Regions from separate parts of the Homo sapiens genome. Here all the other regions are linked to region 1. Evidence: promoter capture Hi-C in human tissues and cell types (Jung and others, 2019). All regions are on one chromosome and are shown on one strand. Each heading gives the region's core, a stretch centred on a gene start or on the middle of the fragment in contact. The rest is flanking DNA. Distances are from core to core; before and after follow the strand shown. Region 1 holds the start of CNP (2'',3''-cyclic nucleotide 3'' phosphodiesterase). Region 2 holds the start of NT5C3B (5'-nucleotidase, cytosolic IIIB). Region 3 holds the start of JUP (junction plakoglobin). Region 4 has its middle 6.0 kb from the start of GAST. Region 5 overlaps P3H4 (prolyl 3-hydroxylase family member 4 (inactive)).

Region 1 (4,714 bases), core at 1,681-4,180:
CAAAGTGCTGGGATTACAGGCATGAGCCACTGTGCCTTTTTTTTTTTTTGAAATGGAGTCTCCCCTCTGTTACCCAGTCTGGAGTGCAGTGGCGCGATCTCGGCTCACTACAACCTCCGCCTCCTAGGTTCAAGTGATTCTCCTGCCTCAGCCTCCTGAGTAGCTGGGACTACAGTCTTGTGCCACCACTCCCGGTTAATTTTTTTTTTTTTTGAGATGGAGTTTTGCTCTTGTTGCCCAGGCTGGAGTACAATGGCACAATCTTGGCTCACTGCAACCTCCGCCTCCTGGGTTCAAGCGATTCTCCTGCCTCAGCCTCCCAAGTAGCTGGGATTACAGGCGCCTGCCACCATGCCCAGCTTATTTTTGTATTTTTAGTAGAGACGGGGTTTCACCTTGTTGGCCAGGCTGGTCTCAAACTCCTGACCTCAGGTGATCCACCTGCCTCGGCCTCCCAAAGTGCTGGGATTACAGGCGTGAGCCATGCCGCCCGGCCGTGTGATTTCTTTTCTATCGATCTCAGGTCCCTTGACTGCAAACTCAAATCAACGGCAGTGCGCATTTTCATGATGTCTGGATGGGATAAGCTATACAGCCCTCACGTGATGCACAGGACGGAGCTGGGCTCAGTCAATGATGGTTCCCTTTCTCTGCTTTTGGAAAGGTGTGCTGTCAACACCAATTTAAAGAGCTGGCAAAAACAGTCATTCTCAGGGCCTTTCTCTCATCGGCCTCTCAAAAGCACAGGCCTCCACAGAGATGAACAGTTTCTTTCTTTTTTTTCTTCTTTCTTTTTTGGAGACGGGTCTTGCTCTGTCACCCAGGCTGCAGTGCAGTGGCTGGATTTTGGCTCATCACAGCCCCAACCTCCTGGGCTCAAGCGATTCTTCTGCCTCAGCCTCCGGGTAGCTGGGACTACAGGCGCCAACCACCACGCCTGGCTAATTTTTGTATTTTTAGTACAGACAGGGTCTCACTGTGTCGCCCAGGCTGGTCTGGAACTCCTGGCCTCAAGGGATCTGCCTGCCTCAGCCTCCCAAAGTGCTGAGATTACAGGCGTGAGCCACCGCACCCGGCCTGACATGAACAAACTTTTATCTTTCTTCCCGCTTTTCTCTTATTTTTCAGAAGCTTCACTGTATGAAGATAGAATAATAACAAGAGAGAAGGACATGAGGAGAGTGAGAGATGAGCCCGAGAAGGTGGTGAAGCAGTGGGACCATAGTGAGGATGAGAAAGAGACAGATGAGGACGATGAGGCTTTTGGGGAAGCTCTGCAGAGCCCAGCAAGCGGAAAGCAGAGTGTGGAAGCAGGAAAAGCCAGAAGCGATTTGGGAGCAGTTGCCAAGGGCCTGTCAGGAGAATTAGGCACAAGATCAGGAGAAACAGGCAGGAAGCTACTAGAAGCTGGCAGAAGAGAGTCAAGAGAAATTTATAGGAGGCCTTCGGGAGAATTAGAGCAAAGACTCTCAGGAGAATTCAGCAGACAGGAACCAGAAGAACTAAAGAAACTTTCAGAAGTGGGCAGAAGAGAGCCAGAAGAACTGGGAAAAACACAATTTGGAGAAATAGGAGAAACGAAAAAAACAGGAAATGAGATGGAAAAGGAATATGAATGAAGCCATCGGTAGAGATGAGGATCAGGAAGCTGGTGTTCAGAGGGATCATGGGATTTTATTAAACTGGATTTTCAAGCGATTTGTCTGTTATAGGAAAAATGAGGGTTTTACTTCTGCTGCTTTCCATCACTATTTTGCCATTAAATAGGTGTCTTTCACTCTTGCAAACCCTGAGTCTGTCACTTTGCCTCTTCACCCCTGCCCATTCTTGGAAGAGCATCGTGGAAGAAATGAGAAAGGTGCCAAGAAGAAAGGGTTTCAGGAGGGTGAAGATACGGGCGCTACAGGGAACAAGAAGTCACAGGGAGGAGAGGGGAAGGCCTGGGAGGAGAGGTGCTTCCCACACACCGGTGACTGACTGAGTCCCTCCAGTGCGCAGGACAGCGGGGAGGCTTTATGGATGGAACAGTGGTGGGGCGGCCCCAGCTGTCACAGGTAGGAGAATGCCGCAAGCCAGAACCAAGCGAATGCTGGGAGTGAGGCCAAAGATAGGGGAGTGGCCTGGGAGTCGGGAGGGCAGACAGACTCCGCCTCTGACACCTCTGGGTGGCATAATCAGGTAAATCAGGCTCTCCAAGCTGGCTTCTCCTCTGAACAATGGGATACCTGCCTCAGGGGTTGCTGCGAGGACTGAGTGCTTAGCACAGCACTTGGACAGGAAACTCAAAAATCCAACGGAGCTCTCAGTGGTTTCACAGAGGAGGTGGCAGCTGAGGATCTGGCCTCAGAGGATGTTAGGATTTCACTCCGTTACTCATCTGTCCCTTTGGCCATTGCCATCCTGGTCTGTCTCCACAGCTCCTAGAAGGAAAGGTCGGGGCTGAGACTGACTTTCGGCTGGCACAGGGCCTGGACGAATGAGGCCAGTGAGGCATTTCAGATGCAGAGTTTACCGGAATGCCAGCAAATTGCATGATAATATTTTAATCCAATGTGGTAAAAAAAAAAGTTTTTAATTAATGCAAAAGTCCATGATGAATAAAATATCAAAAATTAAAGACAGGATCCGACTTTGCACGACCCTGCCTCACTCACTTCCTGCTAATCCACGGGACCGGGGAGGGTGACTGAGTTACCCCTCAACACGCAGAAAAAGCTAGTGGCCGCTCAGCTCGCAGGCGCAGTGGGTGGGTGCGCGTGGGGAGCAGGCGCGCGCAGGGGGCGGGACCGGGCCGAGGTTCCCGCGCGCGGCGAGAGTTTCGGGTTTTGGTTCGCAGCGCCTGCGCGCAGAGGAGACGGCCCGCCCCCAGCCCGCCCGGGTGCCCGCTCCGCCCCCCGGGCTATGTAAAGCGGCCGGGCTCGGGTCGTGCCACCGCTGGACTCCCGTGTCCCTCCGCGCAGGCGGGCGGCCCCGGAGCGCTGGTGCCGGCAGAGGCGGCGACGGTGGCGCCCCTCCTCATCATGGTGAGAGGCCGGGCGGGGCCGGGCACGGGGTAGCACCAGGGCGGGAAACGAGTGTCGGGGCCCCTCGGGAGGAAGCGTCTTGCAAACGAGGACCCGGGGCTCCGGGTTCGACTTCCAGTTTTCTTGGTACTCAGGGCGGCCCTGAGGTCTGGGAGAAGCGGAGGGGTTTTGGGGTGCCGGAGAGGCCGCTGTAAAGGGAAACGGTGGTGTTTCTCAGGAGGGAACTCGGGACCGCAGAAGCTGCTGCGCCTCTGGGAGCCTGGGTGGGCCTGGGCCGGGAGCCCGGGAGCTGCTCCCGACCCCACGCAGGCCCGCGCTGGGGCAGCCGCTTCGGCGCCCCCTCCCCGGGCCCAGTCTCATCACGCGGAACCGCTGCCCCGCGCCCGGGTGCGGGCGGGAGGTGGAGCCAGTTCAGAGGAGGGGACCCTTTACGGTAAAAGCTGCCGTCCCTTGTGGCTTCTAGAAGATAGGAAAACAAGTGGCTCCGAGAGGCGCTTCTGACACACAGCACAGCGGCGGGTAGAGCTGGATCCTAATTGCAGGTGCCCTGTGCTGCCCTGTTCTGGACAGGCACAAAGACCACGACTTTGTGGGGGCCGGGAGAGGGTAGAGGAGGAGGTGGCAGGCTTGGTGAAAGAGGGCCTTTGTCCAGTGCTCTCCTGCCCTGCCCCCCACCAGCCCTTCTGTGGGACCATTGTACCCGCATGCCAGACAAGAGAGTATTATCTGTTGCGGCCATTGTTGGGGGAAGGGAGGCAGTCTTGGGGTAACCCTTCTCCACTCCCCCCCTTCTCTGTGCACTCAGCCGTGGCAGCTGTGGCTTGGCCCAGACACAGAGACCCCCACCTCCAAAGAGGACGTCCTTAGTAGGTGCCAAGCATATAAGAGTGAGGCCAGTCCCAGAACCGCAGGCTCCTGGCGCGCCCCGCATGCCTCCAGCACGTTTACCTTTCCGAAGTGGCAGGAATGGGGAAAGCGCACGCTTAGGAGAGCTTCAGACAAGCTTCCCTCTTCCTCCTCCACGACCAGAAGCGGAAAGGTGCTCCCGGACCGAAAGGGAAAGAAGGTCCAGCACTGCCCCGCTTGGGAAGGCACCCACAACCAGTCTAGGGACTAGGGGTAAGGCCGGCGGGGAGCCCGCGAATGACCTGGGCTGACATCTCTTCCCCTCCTTACACAGAACAGAGGCTTCTCCCGAAAAAGCCACACATTCCTGCCCAAGATCTTCTTCCGCAAGATGTCATCCTCAGGGGCCAAGGACAAGCCTGAGCTGCAGTTTCCCTTCCTTCAGGATGAGGACACAGTGGCCACGCTGCTAGAGTGCAAGACGCTCTTCATCTTGCGCGGCCTGCCAGGAAGCGGCAAGTCCACGCTGGCACGGGTCATCGTGGACAAGTACCGTGATGGCACCAAGATGGTGTCGGCTGACGCTTACAAGATCACCCCCGGCGCTCGAGGAGCCTTCTCCGAGGAGTACAAGCGGCTCGATGAGGACCTGGCTGCCTACTGCCGCCGCCGGGACATCAGAATTCTTGTGCTTGATGACACCAACCACGAACGGGAACGGCTGGAGCAGCTCTTTGAAATGGCCGACCAGTACCAGTACCAGGTGGTGCTGGTGGAGCCCAAGACGGCGTGGCGGCTGGACTGTGCCCAGCTCAAGGAGAAGAACCAGTGGCAGCTGTCGGCTG
Region 2 (4,627 bases), core at 1-2,500, 130 kb before region 1:
CTCTATACTGGAATCTTTGGTTCCAATCAGGAACCATTTGAAGTAGCAAATGACAACCATTTCTGAGCAAAGGACGGGAGCAACCCACCTCTTTCCGACACTCCTCACTGATGATCTTGCTATTATCCAGAATATCTGGAAAAAGAGAAAACTCCTTTTACTTGTCCCTTAGAACCCATCGTCTTGTCAAGCTCAACAAGGGAAGCTAGAATGTGACTTACTGTAAGAAGAAGGGCATCGCTTTCCATTATATGCAAACCTGCTCAAGGTCATGTCAAAATCAGAAATCACCTATAAGGCAAAAGAGAGATGATGCCTAAATAGGCACCAGAATTCTAGTGTGGCCCTGCCTCAGCCTGGGGGATGATTATGGAAATCAATACAGCTCAGTGGCCAGGATGTAGGCAAAGCCCTAGGGGAGTTACCGAGTGACACAGAGGGATAGAGGGGAAGTGATCCTAATTAGTACCCGTTAACCCTGAGGAAAACGCAGTCTCCTAGTGTGGGGGCAAGGGTGAATACTCAGGACCCCTCTGACTCCTTCAATATCAGGTCCCTCCTAAGAGATCTCTACCATTACGGCCCATCTGGACATCTTCAACTTACTGGGGAGCCGCTGGCTTGGGGAGGATAAGGCCCTAGGTACTGGTGTGGGCGCCTTCTGTCCAATTAGAGGAAGCAGCATGACCATATTGAGAAATCTGAAATTTGGGTTTTAGGACAGGCGAACCAACCCGCTCTCCTTCAAGCTCCCGGCCATTTCTTGGGGCAGAGAGCTAGGAGGGGTCCGCGGCAGAGCAAAGCGGGAAGGCCCAATGGGCAGGAAGCCTCTCCAGCCGCCCCCAGCCCGGCCGGCCCCCGCACGCCCCAGAGGTACCTGTAACCGGTCTCCGCCGCCCTTGCGGAGGGCGCCCACGATCTCCTGCACCCGCCCAGGCTGCCGCATCAGGACCGTGGCCTTCATCAGGGTGCTCACCTGTCCCGAGACCCGAGAGAACCACTGACCCCTGCGCCACGCTGGGCCCGAGGGGAGCCCGGGGCTCGCTCGGGCGCGCGTGTGAGGCGGGGCCGGGGTGCGCGAGGGGGCGGCTACTGGCCTGGGTGAAGCGGCGGTGCCTCGGTGACCAGCTGGGGGGCTCGAAGCGCCCCGGGGGTCGGAGTCCGGGCCCGCCCCACTCCGGACGCTTCCTCCCTCCTCACCTCCTCTGCCATCCCGTTCGAGGCCTGGTCGGCGGCTCGCGGGACAACGACAGCCCCGCGACCGCACTGCGCAGGCGTCGCCTCCCGCCTGGAGCCCGGGCGGGGGTTGGTGGGGCCGGGGGCGGGGCGGGGGTGGGGCCGAGAATCGAGCGGTCCCGGAGATGGCCGCGATCCGGGTGGGCTTGCCGGTTGCGCTAGGCAAACTGGAGGAGGGTTCTATTTATTATGAAGAGCAGGGTGAAGGTCCCAAGGTGTTGGGGTTACGTGGGTAGGTAGGGTTCTGCCACTCTTTGTGGAGGAAAAGCCTTGCCAAACGTGGTCATTTCCAGGCTGAAAGTTTGTGACAAAAACATGACTGGGGCTGGGCGCGGTGGCCCATACCTGTAATCCCAGGACTTTGGGAGGCCGAGGCAGGATGATCGCTTGAGCCGAAGAGTTCGAGACCAGCCTGGGCAATATGACGAAACCCTGTCTCTACAAAAAATACAAAAATTAGCCGGGCATGGTGACACGCACCTGTTGTAGTCCCAGCTACTCGGGAGGCTGAGGCACGAGGATCACTTGAGCCCGGGAGATCCAGGCTCCAGTAGGCCGAGATCATACCACTGCACTCCACCCTGGGTGACAGATGACACCCTGTCTCAGAAACAAAAACAGAAAAACCACACGGCTGGATGGGAGGAGAGATGAAGGAGCCATAAACTGAATTCTGTTAATCACCCAGAAAGGGCTCTGTTAACTAGGCCATTCCTCATTCCAGAAGAAACTGAGTGACTAACCCATCCAGCGGGCTGGGAGACCCGGGACAGCTTTCTGAAATGTAATCAGCGTTGGCTGGGCACGGTGCGGAGCACTTGTAATCCCAGCTATTCAGGAGGCTGAGGTGGGAGGATCACTTAAGCCCAGGAGGTCGAGGCTGTAGTGAGTTATGATCACACCACTGCACTCCAGCCTGGGTGAGAGAGCGAGACCCGTCCCTAGAAAAAGAAAGATTTTTTTTTTGAGATGGAGTCTCACTCTGTCGCCAGGCTGGAGTGCAGTGGAGCGATCTCGGCTCACTACAACCTCCATCTCCTGGGTTGAAGCGATTCTCCTGCCTCAGCCTCCCAAGTAGCTGGGACTACAGGCATGTGCCACCACGCCCAGCTAATTTTTGTATTTTTAGTAGAGACGAGGTTTCACCATGTTGGCCAGGATGGCCTTGATCTCTTGACCTTGTGATCCATCCACCTCGTGCTGGGATTACAGGTGTGAGCCACTGCGCCCGGCCTAAGAAAGAAATTTAATCAGTTTTACTTCTCCCTTCAGCCTCAATTGACTTGGATTTCCTTGAGTTCGGTGTCTAGGGAGCCAAGTGTTGGGCTGTGGAAGGTAGATGAATGCTCCAGGGATAGAGACCTGTATCAGGTGAGTAACAGGAGCTGGAATCAATAAACACTCAGATGGTGCTAGTGGTCATGGTTCTGTTTTGGGTTCAAGGACACAGAAGGAGGTGTGAGGTGGTTTTCAGCCTAAGTGGGGTGGTAAGGAGGGGAGAAGGAAGAGGACAAGTCCAGGAGGCAGTTCCAGAACCTGAGAGCACAATCCTGTGTGATCTCACTGCAGGGCCAGGATTCTGGAACTTGGGTTGCCTGATAGACCCTATACAAAAGATGTAGTAGGGAAAAGGAGCGACAGCTGGCTAAAGGGGCCCCCCACAACCCTCCCCGACACCCTAGGAAAGCAGCCTCTCTCCGCTGTCCCAGGGTGCCATGGAGATGGAGAGCGCGGCGGCCTCCACACGTTTCCACCAGCCTCACATGGAGAGGAAGATGAGTGCGATGGCCTGTGAGATCTTCAACGAGCTTAGACTAGAGGGCAAGCTCTGCGACGTGGTCATCAAGGTCAATGGCTTTGAGTTCAGTGCCCATAAGAACATCCTCTGTAGCTGCAGTTCCTACTTTAGGTATAACAGGGTTGCCAAATTCAGCCAAAGGGGTAATTGGGCTCATTTTGAGACACTTTGATCCATTTTCTGTTTCCCACCCCATCACCTTAACTTTAGGGACACTGTCAAAGCTCTGGGCTCCTTAAAAATTAAAAAAAAATTTTTTTTTTAGAGATAAGCTCTCATTCTTTCACCCAGGCTGGAGTGTAGTGATGCAATCATAGCTCACTGCAGCCTTCAACTGCTGGGCTCAAACAATCCACCTACTCCAGCCTCCCAAGTAGCTAGGTCTACAGGCACATGCTGCTACGTCCGGCTACTTTTGAAATGTTCTGTAGAGAGGGAGTCTCGCTATGTTGCCCAGGCTGGTCTTGAACTCCTGGCCCAAAGCGATCCTCCTGCCTCAGTCTCCCAAAGTGCTGGGATTACCACTGTGCCTGGCCAACTCTGGTCCAGGCAGGAGCTCCTGCCTGGCTCCTTTGCCTTCTGAAGAGGCATGACTAGGGTCAGGGCCTTTTTTCTCTCTTTTTTTTTTTTGTTTGTTTTGTTTTTTTTTTTCCTTTTGCTCTTGAGAGATCTGATTTTTGTCTTTTTTTTTTGAGATGAGTCTCATTCTGTTACCCAGGCTGGAGTGCAATGGCGCCATCTCGGCTCACTGCAAACTCCGCCTCCCCAGTTCAATCCATTCTCCCACCTCAGCCTCTCAAGTAGCTGGGATTACAGGCGCCTGACACCACGCCCGGCTAATTTTTGTATTTTTAGTAGAGACAGGGTTTTGCCATGTCGCTCAGGCTGGTCTCAAACTCCTGACCTCAGGTGATCTGCCCGTCTTGACCTCCCAAAGTGCTAGGATTACAGGCATTAGCCACCGCGCCTGGCAAGATACAATTTTTCTTTTTTTAAGATGGAGTCTCGCTTTGTCCCCCAGGCTGGAATGCAGTGGCGTGATCTCGGCTCACTGCAACCGCTGCCTCCCAGGCTCAAGCGATTCTTCTGTCTCAGCCTCCCGAGTAGCTGGAATTACAGGCTCCCGCCACCATGCCCAGCTAATTTTTGTGTTTTTAGTAGAGACGGGGTTTCACCATGTTGGTCAGTCTGGTCTCGAACACCTGACTTCGTGATCCACCCACCTTGGTCTCCCAAAGTGCTGGGATTACAGGCATGAGCCACTGCACCCAGCCTTTAAGGTCTGATTTTTCAACTGGATTTCAACCAACTATTGGTGGGCCAGGTGCTTTAATCTTTGATTCTCACCCAAACCAACCTTTGGGAAGGTTGGACATCCCTACTGGATTTCAGATGACAATGCCACTTCAGGGACCCCCCTGTACCCCTATCCCAATAGAGACCATTTCAAACAGGGTGATAAATTAACAAGGATTAAGGGGATGGGAAGGGAGATGAGGGGGAAATACCCAGGAAATATCAGAAGAAAAAGGGAGTTTGGGCTAAAACCATTGTAACCCAGGAGGTAGAAGGGCTATTTTGTTCATGAGCTGA
Region 3 (4,355 bases), core at 596-3,095, 180 kb before region 1:
CTCTGTTCCCCAACGAGGCTGGGCTCCAAATCCTGCAAAAAGACCACATTTCAGATTTTTTTTTTAAACCGGGGTACAAACCCTGATCAAGATCCCCAATTCTGGGTGGGGGGGGGCGGTCTCAGGAAATTGGGAGCAGGGAAGGCAGGGGGCCCGATGCAGCTCTGCCTGAGAGAGTCTAGCATTGAAGAAACCTTCCCCCAAAAAGCCTTCCTGCGGTCTCACTTTCCCTGTCAAATTCTTTCAGGAAAGCGGGTGGGAAAGGTCTGTGCAGGCCTCCAGAAAGCATGCACCTTCACAATTCAGAAATCAAATGGAAGGCAAGTCCCACAGCCTCATGCGCTTCTGCCTCAATAACCAGCCAGCTAAGTAATGTGGGGGATGGGGTAGAGGCAAAAAAAAAAAGACAAGAACAACCACTCCCCCCACCTTCCTCAGTTTGGCCCAGCCCTGCCCCACCCCCATTCCTGGGGAGGGGGCAGAGCTTGAGAGACAACCACTTACGCAGGCCTTGTCTGAGGGGGTGTGGTGGTCCCAGGAGGCAGGAAGAGAAGGAAGAAGCTGCTTCCCCTCTCAGCACTTTCCACCCCCCACCCCGGCCCCTACCTCAGGCCCCTGGGGCCCAGCGAACAGGATGAATGTGGGGGCAGGGAAGACAGGGTCGGAGCCCAGGCACCGGCCCAGGTTCAGCCAGGGGCCGGCTGGGGGAAGGGGTTTTGCACCAGGAAGGACCCCCTAAGCCTAAAGGAAGTTTTGGGCAAGGAGACGGGAAAACCCCCAGATAAAGCTGCTGTGAATACTTCCTCCTGCAAAGTTTGTTTTGGGTGATTTTTTCCAACAATAAGAGGTTAGAGAAGACGGGTCCTGTTCCCCTACCAACACTCTGGCAGCCACAGCTACTGGAAACTGGGCCAGGTGACCCTGAATTCTTCATCCGTGCACAGACCCCACCCCCCAGACCCCAGGGCGAGCCACGGGTGCCAGACACCAGCTGGACACTGAGCCGAGCCCTGCACCCCCCAGTCACTCCATCCCACCTCCGCTGAAGAAGCCAGAGCCGGGCTCCCACCGGCGTGGAGGGAGGCGCCGCAGGTAGTATCGACGAGGCTCTGGGAGCTGGAGGGCAGGGCCTCTGGACTCCGTGCGCTCACCTGCTCGGCAGGTGGGGCCAGAGTCGCTGGGAAAATGTGCGCTCGGCCCCCACAGTTGGGCAAGCTGGGCGCAAACAATAGGGCCCCACCCAGGCCTGGGGGAGTAGGGAGGGAGGGAAAGCGAGGATGACGCGTGGGGTGGGGTGAGGGTGGCCCCAAAGAGACCAGCGGCAGCAAGTTCCCCAAACGGTAAATTCCTGACTGCAGCGTGAGCCCTGGGACGCAGTCGAAGCAGAGCAAAGTCTCCCCCGCCAGCCCAGGGCGAGAGTCAGGGACGCGGCGTCGGGCGAGCTGCGCGGGCCCCGGGGGAGGCGCGACCCCGGAGGCACCTGTCCGGATCCCTCCCCGCCTTGCTCAGATCTCTGGTTCGCGGAGCTCCGAGGCGCGCTCGGCCCGAACCGCGCGACCCCCAAGTCGCCGCGCCCAGGACCCCAGCGCGCCCCCTGCCGCCGGTGCAGGGTGGCGCTCGATGGCACCGGCCCTCACCTGCCCAGGGACGGCTGGGACCGGCCCCGCGGCCGCTCGCCACCCCTCTGTCCCCAACGATACCTGCGCCCCCGATAGCCCGCACCTGAGTATGGGGCCTGACCGGGCCGGGTCGGGGTCGGGCCGGGGTGGGAGCCGGCGCGGACAGCGAACTGAGCTCGGCGTGGTCGGGCGGCGGCTGCTCCGGACTCTGGCCAAGGCAGCAACTCAGTAACCGAACAAAAGGCGAAGAGACCTGACAGCCAAGCCACGCCCCTCGCCACCTCGAAGCTCCGCCCCTGGGGGAGACGCCCACCCTCTGGTGCGAGCTCACTGGCTATCTCGCCTGACTGTCCCGTGGAGGGGCGGAGCCTCGCCTCCAGTCCTCTTCCACGGCCGCCTCTGTTTATCCGCTTGCCATTGGCCCCGGGGACTGCCAGTCGGCTCTAGGGATGGACTCTAACTTGAGGTCTCATCCTAACATTGCATCTATTGGCAGATAGAAAGTTACTTCCTCCTGATTGGACAAGGCTCTGTCAGTAAGACTAAGGAAAAAACCAATGGAAGGGATGGGGTGTGTCTTGCCCCACCCTTGCTCTGAGCAGGTGAGACTCATTACTCTCCCCTTCCCCCTACCTGTCCAACAGGTAAGTCATAGGGATACCAAGGGAAGGGACAGACGCCTTCACCGGCCAGCCAACTCAGCGTCAGGCATGATGCTTCTTTGGGCTTATTCATCCTTGCCCCAAAGTAGTAATCACATATTTGTATAGCATTTCATAGGCTTTGTGCTGGGGTGGGATTTTTTTCCCGAAAGATGGAGTACTCCTGGGATTTAGAATTAGAAGGCCAGGTTTGGTCTTCTCCCACTTGGTATGATTTTAGGCAAGTTACTTCACCCTGTTTCTCCTCTTCTGTAAACTGGATACATTAGCCATATCTACCTCACTGGAGTATGTGGGGATTAAATGAGGTCAGGTTTGTGAAAGCACTCAGAAACTGCTAAAGGTTAGAAATTTAAATTAACGGTATGTTTTTTTTTAATTATTGTGACAGCTCTGAAAAATAGTTAGGATGAGAAAACGACCCTCATTGTAAAGATGAAGAAACCGAAGTTCAGAGAAGTCACAAAACTACAAAGTGGCACACCCCAAGCTAGAACCTCCTTCCTCTCATTTGAAGGACCATCAAACCAGCTGTTCCCCTCATGGAAGAGGAGCATAGACATAAAATGTCAAGGCAATGGGGAAGGGGCAGAGAAAAGGCACAAACACTTGGAGGAGAGACAGAACAATTAATTGGCACAAAAATACAGTATTGGTGTCAGGAGGCTTTGGTGGGCTTGGAAACATCAAGCAGCAGATCTGAAGGAAATCCAGCCCTGGCATGAAAGAAACGGGGCAGGCCAGGCGCAGTGGCTCACTCCTGTAATCTCAGCATTTTGGGAGGCAAAGGCGGGTGGATCACCTGAGGTCGGGAGTTCAACACCAGCCTGGCCAATATGGTGAAGCCCCATCTCTACAAAAAATACAAAAAGTTAGCCGAGCGTGGTGGCGGGCAACTATAATCCCAGCTGCCTGGGAGACTGAGGCAGGAGAATTGCTTGAACCTGGGAGGCGGAGGTTGCAGTGAGCCGAGACCATGTCACTGCACTCCAGCCTGGGCATGACAGAGCGAGACTCCATCTCAAACAAAAAAAAAAAAAAGAAAAGAAAAAAATAAACCGGGCAGCACACCCCTCTGCGATAGGAGAGCCTGGGGTAGAGATCAGAGAGAACTTCTCGGCCAGGCGTGGTGGCTCATGCCTGTAATCCCAGCAATTTGGGAGGCCAAGGTGGGCAGATCACTTGAGGTCAGGAGTTCGAGACCAGCCTGGCCGACATGGTGAAACCCCATCTCTACTGAAAATACAGAAATTAGCCAGGCATGGCAGCGGGCACCTGTAATGCCAGCTACTCGGGAGGCTGAGGCAGGAGAATGGCGTGAACCCGGGAGGCAGAGGTTGCAGTGAGCTGAGATCATGCCATTGCACTCCAGCCTGGGTGACAGAGTGAGACTCTGTCTCAAAAAAATAAAAAGGACTTCTCACAGGCAGCTTAAGAAGACAAGGGCACTTCCTTTCTGTGGTTGATGACATGAATGCTGCTCGTGGCTGTATGGTGTGCCAAGGGCCCTACAAACATTCCTTCATTCAACACTTGAGTATTCATTGTCAACTGTATGTTAGGCACTGGTGAACACAGAAAATAAAACCTGGTGACACAGGAAATAAAAATGATCCCAACCTTCAAAGAGCTCATAGAAGGATAAGCAGAAGCAGCGTGTGTGGGTGGGTTTTGGAGGAGTGGTGGTTTAGAAAAGGGTCCCCCATCAACAAAGCTCTACAGCCCCAAAGCTAGCACACAGGATGGGCTGGATGAAGGTACCTTAGCAGCAACCTTGACCACTTTCCCCACCAGAGAAAAGAATGGTAGCTGAACATTCTCCCTTCTGAAGTTGCGCCATCCAAAAGCAGGGCCAGGGAGATACGGACATCCCTGAACTAGTGGCCATCCCATAACCAGGGCCACCGCCCTTTGCCTGTTTCCTCAACTCTCCATCCTCCAGCTTACCTCCCTATCTTTATCCCTGCCTTACCCCTGCCCCATCCACCTGCTTGTCACCCTGTCACATAGAGCTGTAGCCAGGCCACAGCTGGGGAAGGAATGGGCTCACAATCCTGGACTGCTGCAGCTGCCA
Region 4 (4,645 bases), core at 669-3,168, 250 kb before region 1:
TGAAGTTGTGGCAGGGAGAAGAGCTGAGTGCCTCTTAGGGGCAGGGACCCTGGCTGATTCTTCTTGGGTCCCCCAGAGCCCCACATTGAACGAGAATCCACAGGTATGGGCAGGATAATATATGGTAGGGTTCATAGCCAGAGTAACCTTTTTTTTTAATTTTTATTTTATTTTATTTTTGAGATGGAGTTTCGCTCTTGTCTCCCAGGCTGGAGTGCAATAATGAGACCTCAGCTCACTGCAACCTCTGCCTCCTAGGTTCAAGCGATTTTCCTGCCTCAGCCTCCCAAGTAGCTGGGATTACAGGTGCCCGCCACCACACCTGGCTAATTTTTTTGTATTTTTAGTGGGGACGGGGTTTCACCATGTTGGCCAGGCTGGTCTTGAACTCCTGACCTCAGGTGATCCACCCGCCTCGGCCTCCCAAAGTGCTGGGATTACAGGCATGAGCCACCGTGCCCAGCCTCAGAGTAAGCTTTTTAAAAGATAAACCGTGTCACACTCGGTTTTAACGTTGCAATGTTTCCCAGTGCACTTAGAATACAACCTGAACTCCCTGCCACAGCCCTGAAAGCTAGCCCTGAGGTTCTCCTCCCACTGTGCGCCAAGTGGCTTCCTTCTCTTTGTCCTCTCGGTCCTTTCCCTTACACAGACACGCCATGTTCTCTCTTGCTCAGAGCCTCCGACCTTGCCATTCCCTGTGCCTGCAACGCTCTTCCCCAGGCACAAATATGGTGGGCTCCCCTTTCCTCCTTAGCTCTTGGGTGAAATGCCTCTTCCTGAGAGACCTACCCTTTCTGCTCCTCACCCTTCACACATAGACCCAGTTATTCTCTACCACAGGGTCAAATAAAAGAGAAAAAATTAAGCTTTTTAAAGAATGAATGCTAGTTGTATTCAGAAGTCTTACAGAGGACTATAGATTGAGGCCTCCAGCCCAGGAGCAGGCTCTGGCACAATGTTTCAGCCCATTGCTTATATACATCTGGGGGCTAAAGGTGGAGGTTCCGTATGTGCAAAATCCCATCAGACTTGCTCAGAATTACATGACAGCAGAATCACAGCAAGATTTGGGTCCTAGATCACAGAGGCATCATCACTAACCTCGTCAGATGTCATCTTGGAAATGTTCTGTGTCAGAAAAGCCAGGGACTAGGATTATTTCTCTTTTAAGAAACGTGAAGACTCAAGCCGGGCGCAGTGGCTCACATCTGTAATCCCAGCACTTTGGGAGGCCGAGGAGGGTGGATCACTTTAGGTCAGGTGCTCGAGACCAGCCTGGCCAACAAGGTGAAACCCCGTCTCTACTAAAAATACAAAATTTAGCCAGGCATGTGCCTGTAGTCCTGGCTACTCGGGAGGCTGAGGCAGGAGAATTGCTTGAACCCGGGAGGCAGAGGTTGCAGTGAGCCAAGATTGCGCCATGACACTCCAGCCTGGGCAACAGAACAAGACTCTCTTTCAAAGAAAAAAAAAAAAGAAGAAGAAAAGAAAAGTAGTGACTCAGCCAAGAGACATGGGAGGGCCTCAGGCTCTCTCCTGTGCTGTCTTCAAAGCATCTTTCCGGAGGGCTGCACGTCTGTCTCTAGTCACAGAGTCAGGTGCTTTGTGAAACTGTGCCGACAAGCAGAAAGGAGCAAACACAGCTTCTTAATGTTTGTTGCTTTGTCTCACAATAGCAGAATATTTTCTTTAGAACACATTTCACAATCTGTAGTTGTTTTGTTTGCCAGTTTATTGTCTGCCTCTCGGGCAAAACAGGAAACTGGGAGCGTGACAAGTCCCTCCTCCCTTCTGTATCCCCGGTGGCAAGAATAGGAGGAACCCAATAAATATTTGTAAATAATTGCTCATGAGTGGCTGGTGCAGGCATTGCTGGTGTCTCACTCCATTCCATCATTGTTCTTGTGCCTGTTGACACCATTACCTTGAGCTACCCGCCACCTGAGGGCTGTAGAGGAGGGAAAGTGTTTTCTCTACCCATCTTAGGTCCTCGGCTGGGGCTCTGTTATAAAAGACAGATTACAAGAGAAAAGCAAACAAGTTTATTAACATGTGTATCACACATTTAACACACAGAGTACCCAGAGTTGAGTAACTCAGAGAGGTAGCTTAGAATTCAGGCTCACACTGTCTACGGCCATACCACCCTGAACGCGCCCGATCTTGTCTGATCTTGGAAACTAAGCACGGTGGGGCCTGGTTAGTACTCAGATGGGAGAATTCAGGCTCACAGAGCATCTTCAACAAAGAACAATACATTTGTAGGCAAGATAAAGGACAGCAATTTTTAGACTTCCAAGGGTGGCTAACTGTGTGTGGGAAACAGCTTTCTGCCCGTGGGAGCTGAGCCCTGTCCCCTCTCAGGGCTGGGTCTGGTAGCCAGTGGGCCTCCCCCGGCTTCTCCTGCCCCCCTGGGCTGCCATGTGACCCACATCCGGCAGTCACAGCTCTTGTGCCAGCTGCAGAACAAGGGCTGGGGTTCCTACCGCCTGTCCCAGAAGAGGGCTGAGGTCCAGGCCCCCAAGCTCCAGCCTAGGTTAGACTTCCAAGGGTGGCTAACTGTGCATGGGAAAGCAGCTATATGGAAAACGAATGGTAGATAAAGGCTAGTGAGTCAAGTTTGTTATTAGATTGCACTGGTGCCACTCCAGGCTGAAAGGGGTCTAAAGTTGTCTCCGACTTGTTCCAGACATTATGGAAGGAAAACGTCCTACGTAAATGAAATTGTCATTCTGTGTCCTCCCACCACAGCAGCAGATGTGTCCTTCCGTTGAGTGAGGGTAACCTTACGTCCACCAAGGATACTTGGAGAAAGTCTATGAGGAGCAAGCTTCAGTCCCACGGTTTCAGACTATTTATGCTCTGAACACAAGAGTACTGGTTAATTATGTTCTCAGCTCTCCTCGCTGTTCTAAGTGTGCACTTGTTGCAAGTAACTTATATTTTTTTATTTGAATGTATTTTATTTTTTTGAGACAGAGTCTTGCTCTGTCACCCAGGCTGGATTGCAGTAGTGCCATCTCAGCTCACTGCAACCTCCACCTCCCAGGTTCAAGCGATTCTCCTGCCTCAGCCTCTCAAGTAGCTGGGATTATAGGCAGGCACCACCATGCCAGGCTAATTTTTGTACTTTTTAGTAGAGGTGGGGTTTCACCATGTTGTCTAGGCTGGTCCTGAACTCCTGACCCCGTGATCCACCCGCCTCAGCCTCCCAAAGTGCTGGGATTCTCTAGGTGTGAGCCGCTGCACTCAGCCTGAATGTATTTTAAAGCAGTAGATAGAATAACAAAGGAATATGAAAACCATGGATTGAATGGACCATTTTATGTATTCAGAGAGACGAGCCACCATCATTGCCAGAAATACCATGTAAAAATTGGCAATTTGGCCAGCCGCAGTGGCTCACGTCTGTCATCCCAGCACTTTGGGAAGCCAAGGCAGGCGGATCACCTGAGGTCAGGAGTTCGAGACCAGCCTGACCAATACGGTGAAACACTGTCTCTACTAAAAATACAAAAATTAGCTGGGCATGGTGTTATGCATCTGTAATCCCAGCTACTCAGGAGGCTGAGACAGGAGAATTGCTTGAGCCCAGGAGGCAGAGGTTGCAGTGAGCTGAGATCACGCCATTGCACTCCAGCCTGGGAGACAGGGCGAGACTCTGTCTCAAAAAAAAAAAAGGCAATTTGGAGATTGCAGTATTTAGTAAACAAATAAATGATCAACATTGTGCAACCACTACCAAAAAGTGTATTGTAATGCATCAAAAATCAACATTTTATTCACTAATGAGTATCAATAAAATAAGTCCAAATTATGGAAACCAAAAAAATAATAAAAAATAAAGTTGTCTCCAGATATTTAACTTTTTTTTTTTTTTTTTGAGACAGAGTCTCACTCTGTTGCCCAGGCTGGAGTGCAGTGGCACGATCTTGGCTCACTACAAGCTCTGCCTCCCGGGTTCATGCCATTCTCCTGCCTCAGCGTCCCAAGTAGCTGGGATTACAGGCGCCCACCACCACGCCTGGCTAATTTTTTGTATTTTTAGTAGAGGCGGGGTTTCACCGTGTTAGCCAGGATGGTCTCGATCTCCTGACCTCATGATCCACCCACCTTGGCCTCCCAAAGTGCTGGGATTACAGGCATGAGCCACCGCGCCCAGCTTTATTTATTTATTTATTTATTTTTGACACAGAGTTTCGCTGTTGTTGCCCAGGCTGGAGTGCAATGGGGCAATCTCGGCTCACTGCAACCTCCGCCTCCCAGGTGCAAGCAATTCTTTTGCCTCAGCCTCCCAAGTAGCTGGGATTACAGGCATGTGCCACCACACCTGGCTAATTTTGTATTTTCAGTAGAGACAGGGTTTCTCCATGTTGCTCAGGCTGGTCTTGAACTCCTGACCTCAGGTGATCCACCCACCTCGGCCTCCCAAAGTGTTAGGATTACAGGCATGAGCCACCGTGCCCAGCCCAGAGATTTAACTTTTATCCTTCCTGGTAGATGGACACAGTTGAAAATGTATGTCCTGTTTTTATGCAAATAGGAGGGTAGGGAGCTTTTCTTGTATCTGCTTCTTCTCAATTGCCTTCAGCTCAAAATAGTCCTTATGCCAAAGTGGCATATTTGGAGGTAACACATTCTA
Region 5 (4,461 bases), core at 1,475-3,974, 160 kb before region 1:
CTTCCCAAGCTTGAGCGGTGTGGGGTGTCCCCTTCTCATGCGAGTTCAGGCTCTGGCTCTGAAAAGGAAAGGAGAAAGCACTGGGGTTGCTCCCCCACCCACTCCCAATGGGTGTCCAGGTGCTGTCCTGATGGGAGGTGGGGTGAGGCTCCCCCGGACAGGTCTCAGCTGGTCCCAGCTCCAGGGGAGATGCTGCACCACCACCCCCAAGCGGGACAGGGGTTGCCAACAGGCTGGAGGCCCCTGGAGGATGGGCCCCAGCACCCACACACACCCTGGGCTCCGGAGCCCAGCGGGTGAATGCATCTGTCCCCAACCTCCATCCCAGGCTGCATCCCCACCCCCCAAGGACTCGTGTCACTGACCAGCCTCGGCCTCGTCACCCTTGGCATCCGGCTCCTGCCACCAGTCAGCATACATGCCCTCCTCGTAGTCACCCTCCCCCTCAAACTCGGCGTCAGATAGGGCATCCTCAGGCTCCAGGGGCGGTTCTGTCTCCTCCAGCTCCATCTAGAGTAGCGCCACGGTTGTGGGAGAAACCGGGTCACAGTACGCCCAAACCCATATGGGCTCCCTTCCTGGCCAATGGGACTTCCCATCCCATCTCTCGGTCCCCAAAGCCCCTCCCCCTCCCCAGTCTCAAGATCTAATGAGACAGTCCTGAGGATTTTTCCCAAACTGCCCCTCCCTGAGTGGCTGCATAGGGCACCACCAGCAGAATTTGGTGTCAGCATAAACATCGCCCCTGCACAGCCCCACCTTTTAAGCATAAAGACCCTGGCAAGAATATTGCTAGTCCATGCATAATATTTGCTCATACTGTTTCCCTGCCAGGAACTACTGCTGTCCCCTGTGCCTGCGTAGCCCGCACTAATCCCTCCAAAGCCAGGCATCAGTTCCAGGCTGAGCCCTTGCTGGTGACTCTGGCTGGGCTGGAGACCTCCCCTGGTGCCGTGTGCTGCCCTCTCCAGCAGCAGTTTGTGCTTCCCCCACTAGACTGTGAGCGGCACGTGAAAGGGACCATGACTTCCTTTTTTTTTTTTTTTTTTGAGACGGAGTCTGCTCTGTTGCCCAGGCTGGAGTGCAGTGGCATGATCTCGGCTCACTGCAAGCTCTGCCTCCTGGGTTCACGCCATTCTCCTGCCTCAGCCTCCCCAGCAGCTGGGAATATAGGCGCATGCCGCCACTCCTGGCTAATTTTTTGCATTTTTAGTAGAGACCGGGTTTCACCGTGTTAGCCAGGATGGTCTCAATCTTCTGACCTCGTGATCCGCCCGCCTTGGCCTCCCAAAGTGCTGGGATTACAGGTGTGAGCCACCGTGCCCCGCCAGGACCATGACTTTCACTAACTTACTCCAGCCCCTAGTCTGGTGTCTGGCAAACCACAGGAAATAAGAGACAGCCGTCAAAATGGCTGCCATACGCCAGGCGTGGTGGCTCACACCTGTAATCCCAGCACTTTGGGAGGCTGAGGTCGGTGGATCATTTGAGGTCAGGAGTTCAAGACCAGCCTGGTCAACATGGTGAAACCCCATGTCTCTACTAAAAATACAAAAATTAGCTGGGTATGGTGGCACACGCCTGTAATCCCAGCTACTCAGGAGGCTGAGGCAGGAGAATCGCTTGAACCTGGGAGGCGGAAGTTGCAATGAGCTGAGACTGCACCACTGCACTCCAGCCTGGATGACAGAGTGAGACTCGGCTGTCATTCACTGTGCACCTACCAGGTACTGGCTCTTTATCAAGTGCTTTACATACTTGATCTCAGCCAGGAGCGGTGGCTCACGCCTGTAAACCTAGCACTTTGGGAGGCCGAGGCAAGCGGACCACTTGAGGTCAGGAGTTTGAGACCAGCCTGGCCAACGTGGTGAAACCCTGTCTCTACTACAAATACAAAATAAAATTGGCTGGACATGGTGGCGCATGACTGTAATCCCAGCTACTCGGAGGCTGAGACAGGAGGATCTCTTCAACCCAAGAGGTGGAGGTTGCAGTGAGCAGAGATCGCACCACTGCACTCCAGCCTGGGTGACAGAGTGAGATTCTGTCTCCAAGAAAAAAAAAAGAAAAATGCATACTTGAGGCCGGGTGTGGTGGCTCACACCTGTAATCCCAGCACTCTGGGAGGCCGAGGTGGGTGGATCACAAGGTCAGGAGATCGAGACCATACGGGGTAACATAGTGAAACCCCATCTCTACTAAATATACAAAAAAAATTAGCCGGGCGTGGTGGCAGGCGCCTGTGGTCCCAGCTACTTGGGAGGCTGAGGTAGGAGAATGGCGTGAGAACCTGGGAGGCGGAGCTTGCAGTGAGCTGAGATCACGCCACTGCACTCCAGCATGGGCGACAGAGCGAGACTCTGTCTCAAAAACAAACAAACAAAAAAACATACTTGATCTCACTTAATTCTTTCTCTTTTTTCGAGACAGAGTCTCAATCTGTCACCCAGGCTGGAGTACAGTGGCGCGATCTCGGCTCACTGCAACCTCTGCCTCTGGTTCAAGCCATTCTCCTGCCTCAGCCTCCCCAGTAGCTGGGATTACAGGTGCCCACCACCACACCTGAGTAATTTTTGTATTTTTAATAGAGACAGGGTTTCACTATGTTGGCCAGGCTCGTCTTGAACTCCTGATCTCAGGTGATCCCTCTGCCTCGGCCTCCCAAATTGCTGGGATTACAGGCATGAGCTACCATACCCGGCCAGATCTTGTGTTATTCTCACCACAACAATGTGAGATGGGCATGATTCTCCCCATTCAATGGATGAAGAAACAGAAGCTTGAGAGGTTGCCTGACACTTGTTTGGAGGCCACCCAACTGGTAAGTAATGGAGCCAGGTCTGGCTAGTTCCTCATCCTGGGTGCTGACGGTGTAGATTCTGCCCTCCTCCTCTGGGGTTGGATGGGTGGGGGCGTGGGGGCATGAACAAAGGAGAGGATACATAAATGAGCACTGAGCAGCAACACCTCAGAGAAATTAAGGCTGTCAAACCCTCACTTGAAATCAATGTTAATAGGGCCGGGTGCGGCTGCTCACGCCTGTAATCCCAGCACTTTGGGAGACCGAGGCAGATAGATCATGAGGTCACGAGGTCGAGACCAGCCTGACCAACACGGTGAAACACTGTCTCTACTAAAAATACAAAAATTAGCCAGGCGTGGTGGTGCACGCCTGTAATCCCAGCTACTCCGGAGGCTGAGGCAGGAGCATCGTGTGAACCCGGGAGGCAGAGGTTTCAGTGAGCTGAGATGACACCACTGCACTCCAGCCTGGGCGGCAGAGCGAGACTCCATCTCAAAAAAAAAAAATAAATAAATAAATAAAATAAATCAATGTAATACAATACGGTCCTTCTGTCCTGAGGTCCTGCATTCATTCATTCACTGGTTCATTCAAACTCAGTTTCTGAGCCCAGGCTCTGTGCAGGATGTGGGAGAACAGGGAATAATGTGGCCCTGTGTCCTGCAGTGCGGTTCTCCTGGATACTGGCTGGAGAAGGGGCCCAGGGCTGAGATGGACGAGGGCTGCAATCACCCAGGTCCAGGCCACAGGTGGCCAGGGAGGCACACAGGTCAGAGTGGGCACTGCTAGCCCAGAACAAAGAGCCAGGGCATGCAGCAAGGGCTTCCTGGAGGAGGCACCATGTGAGCTGGGCCTGGGAGGAACAGGATTGAGACATGTACAAAAGGAGGACATGAGAATACTAAGGCTGGGGAAGGAACGGACAGTCTAGACAAGGAACAGGCAAACCTCTCTTCTTCACGACAGCTGACCACCAGGGGCTGGGGCTGAATTCTGGCACACTGGTGGCCCCAGGAAAAGGTCCAAGGTGTCCCCATCACAGCCCAATCCTGGAAAGCAGGAGGCACTCACCTCATCATCTGACTGCAGGTACATGTGGGTGAACTCCAGCAGCTCCCGCAGCTCGGCGGTCTGGTTGTGGTAGAGCATGGCCTCCTGGAAGGAGGGAAGGACGGGGTGGGGGGTGAGCCATACCCTGTTGCCAGATGGCAAGAAGCCAGGGCTCCTAGGATCTGGGCCCACTGGCCCTCTTCTAGCTCAAGGATCAGAGAATAGGTATCAGCTCACAAGCTCATCAGATCATCGTGGCTGCTTGGAACACTGGGTTAAGGATTCTGAGAGTTTGGTGACAAAGAGTCCCTCAATCGATTAGCAATGTCTGCCACTGACAAGGAAGGCAGGAGTGGCACCATGTGCCCCATATTTGCCAGCCTGGCCCTCAACTCCAACAGATTTCCTCCATTGGTTACCTAGGGTGTTCCTGGGAAAGAGGGACAAAGGTCAGCAGTGAGGGTAATGAAGGTAGGGAGGGGAGCAGGTAGGAGTGGATGTGTACCTTCATACCTCCCTCGTCTGGACACTGCTGGTGAGGTGGCAGTATCACTGCCATTTTGCAGGTGAGGCAATAGATTAGGAAAGGGCCATGGTCTTCCCAGGAC

The links. The method cuts DNA at HindIII sites, captures the fragments that hold promoters and counts their contacts. A contact is called where the count stands out against the background at its distance.
Region 2: a contact is called between the fragment with the promoter of NT5C3B here and the fragment with the promoter of CNP in region 1, in 1 of the 25 tissues and cell types used here (adrenal gland).
Region 3: the fragment with the promoter of JUP here is called in contact with the fragment with the promoter of CNP in region 1 in 1 of the 25 tissues and cell types used here (liver).
Region 4: a contact is called between a fragment that was not itself captured here and the fragment with the promoter of CNP in region 1, in 2 of the 25 tissues and cell types used here (lymphoblastoid cells and mesenchymal stem cells).
Region 5: a contact is called between a fragment that was not itself captured here and the fragment with the promoter of CNP in region 1, in 4 of the 25 tissues and cell types used here (H1 embryonic stem cells, dorsolateral prefrontal cortex, heart left ventricle and 1 more).

What each region holds. Positions count from the first base shown.
Region 1 is chr17:41,963,865-41,968,578 of GRCh38, forward strand. CNP (2'',3''-cyclic nucleotide 3'' phosphodiesterase) reads left to right here and starts at 2,931. Exons shown (of 4, transcript NM_033133.5): 1 at 2,931-3,023; 2 at 4,204-4,714. The coding sequence starts at 3,021. ODAD4 (outer dynein arm docking complex subunit 4) reads left to right here. Exons shown (of 12, transcript NM_031421.5): 12 at 1,129-2,639. The coding sequence ends at 1,619. RefSeq lists enhancers at 2,204-2,303, 3,405-3,962, 3,963-4,520, 4,521-4,714 and silencers at 2,674-3,113, 3,244-3,433. The HindIII fragment of the contact is 7,030 bases long and covers 1-4,714 here.
Region 2 is chr17:41,834,982-41,839,608 of GRCh38, forward strand. It overlaps NT5C3B (5'-nucleotidase, cytosolic IIIB), which reads right to left and starts at 1,251. Exons shown (of 9, transcript NM_052935.5): 1 at 1,201-1,251; 2 at 878-976; 3 at 222-291; 4 at 89-135. The coding sequence starts at 1,212. It overlaps KLHL10 (kelch like family member 10), which reads left to right and starts at 2,844. Exons shown (of 5, transcript NM_152467.5): 1 at 2,844-3,145. The coding sequence starts at 2,952. RefSeq lists silencers at 735-844, 975-1,354 and an enhancer at 1,775-1,854. The HindIII fragment of the contact is 24,571 bases long and covers 1-4,627 here.
Region 3 is chr17:41,784,866-41,789,220 of GRCh38, forward strand. It overlaps JUP (junction plakoglobin), which reads right to left and starts at 1,846. Exons shown (of 14, transcript NM_002230.4): 1 at 1,723-1,846. RefSeq lists silencers at 1,138-1,350, 1,515-1,814. The HindIII fragment of the contact is 40,774 bases long and covers 1-4,355 here.
Region 4 is chr17:41,716,022-41,720,666 of GRCh38, forward strand. It overlaps a transcript of HAP1 not described here and the pseudogene RNA5SP442. Among named protein-coding and RNA genes, the nearest start is that of GAST, 6.0 kb to the left of the region's middle. RefSeq lists a silencer at 1,436-1,730. The HindIII fragment of the contact is 4,495 bases long and covers 1-4,166 here.
Region 5 is chr17:41,802,922-41,807,382 of GRCh38, forward strand. It overlaps P3H4 (prolyl 3-hydroxylase family member 4 (inactive)), which reads right to left. Exons shown (of 8, transcript NM_006455.3): 6 at 3,875-3,958; 7 at 366-510; 8 at 1-58. The coding sequence ends at 36. Among named protein-coding and RNA genes, the nearest start is that of P3H4, 6.8 kb to the right of the region's middle. The HindIII fragment of the contact is 7,644 bases long and covers 1-4,461 here.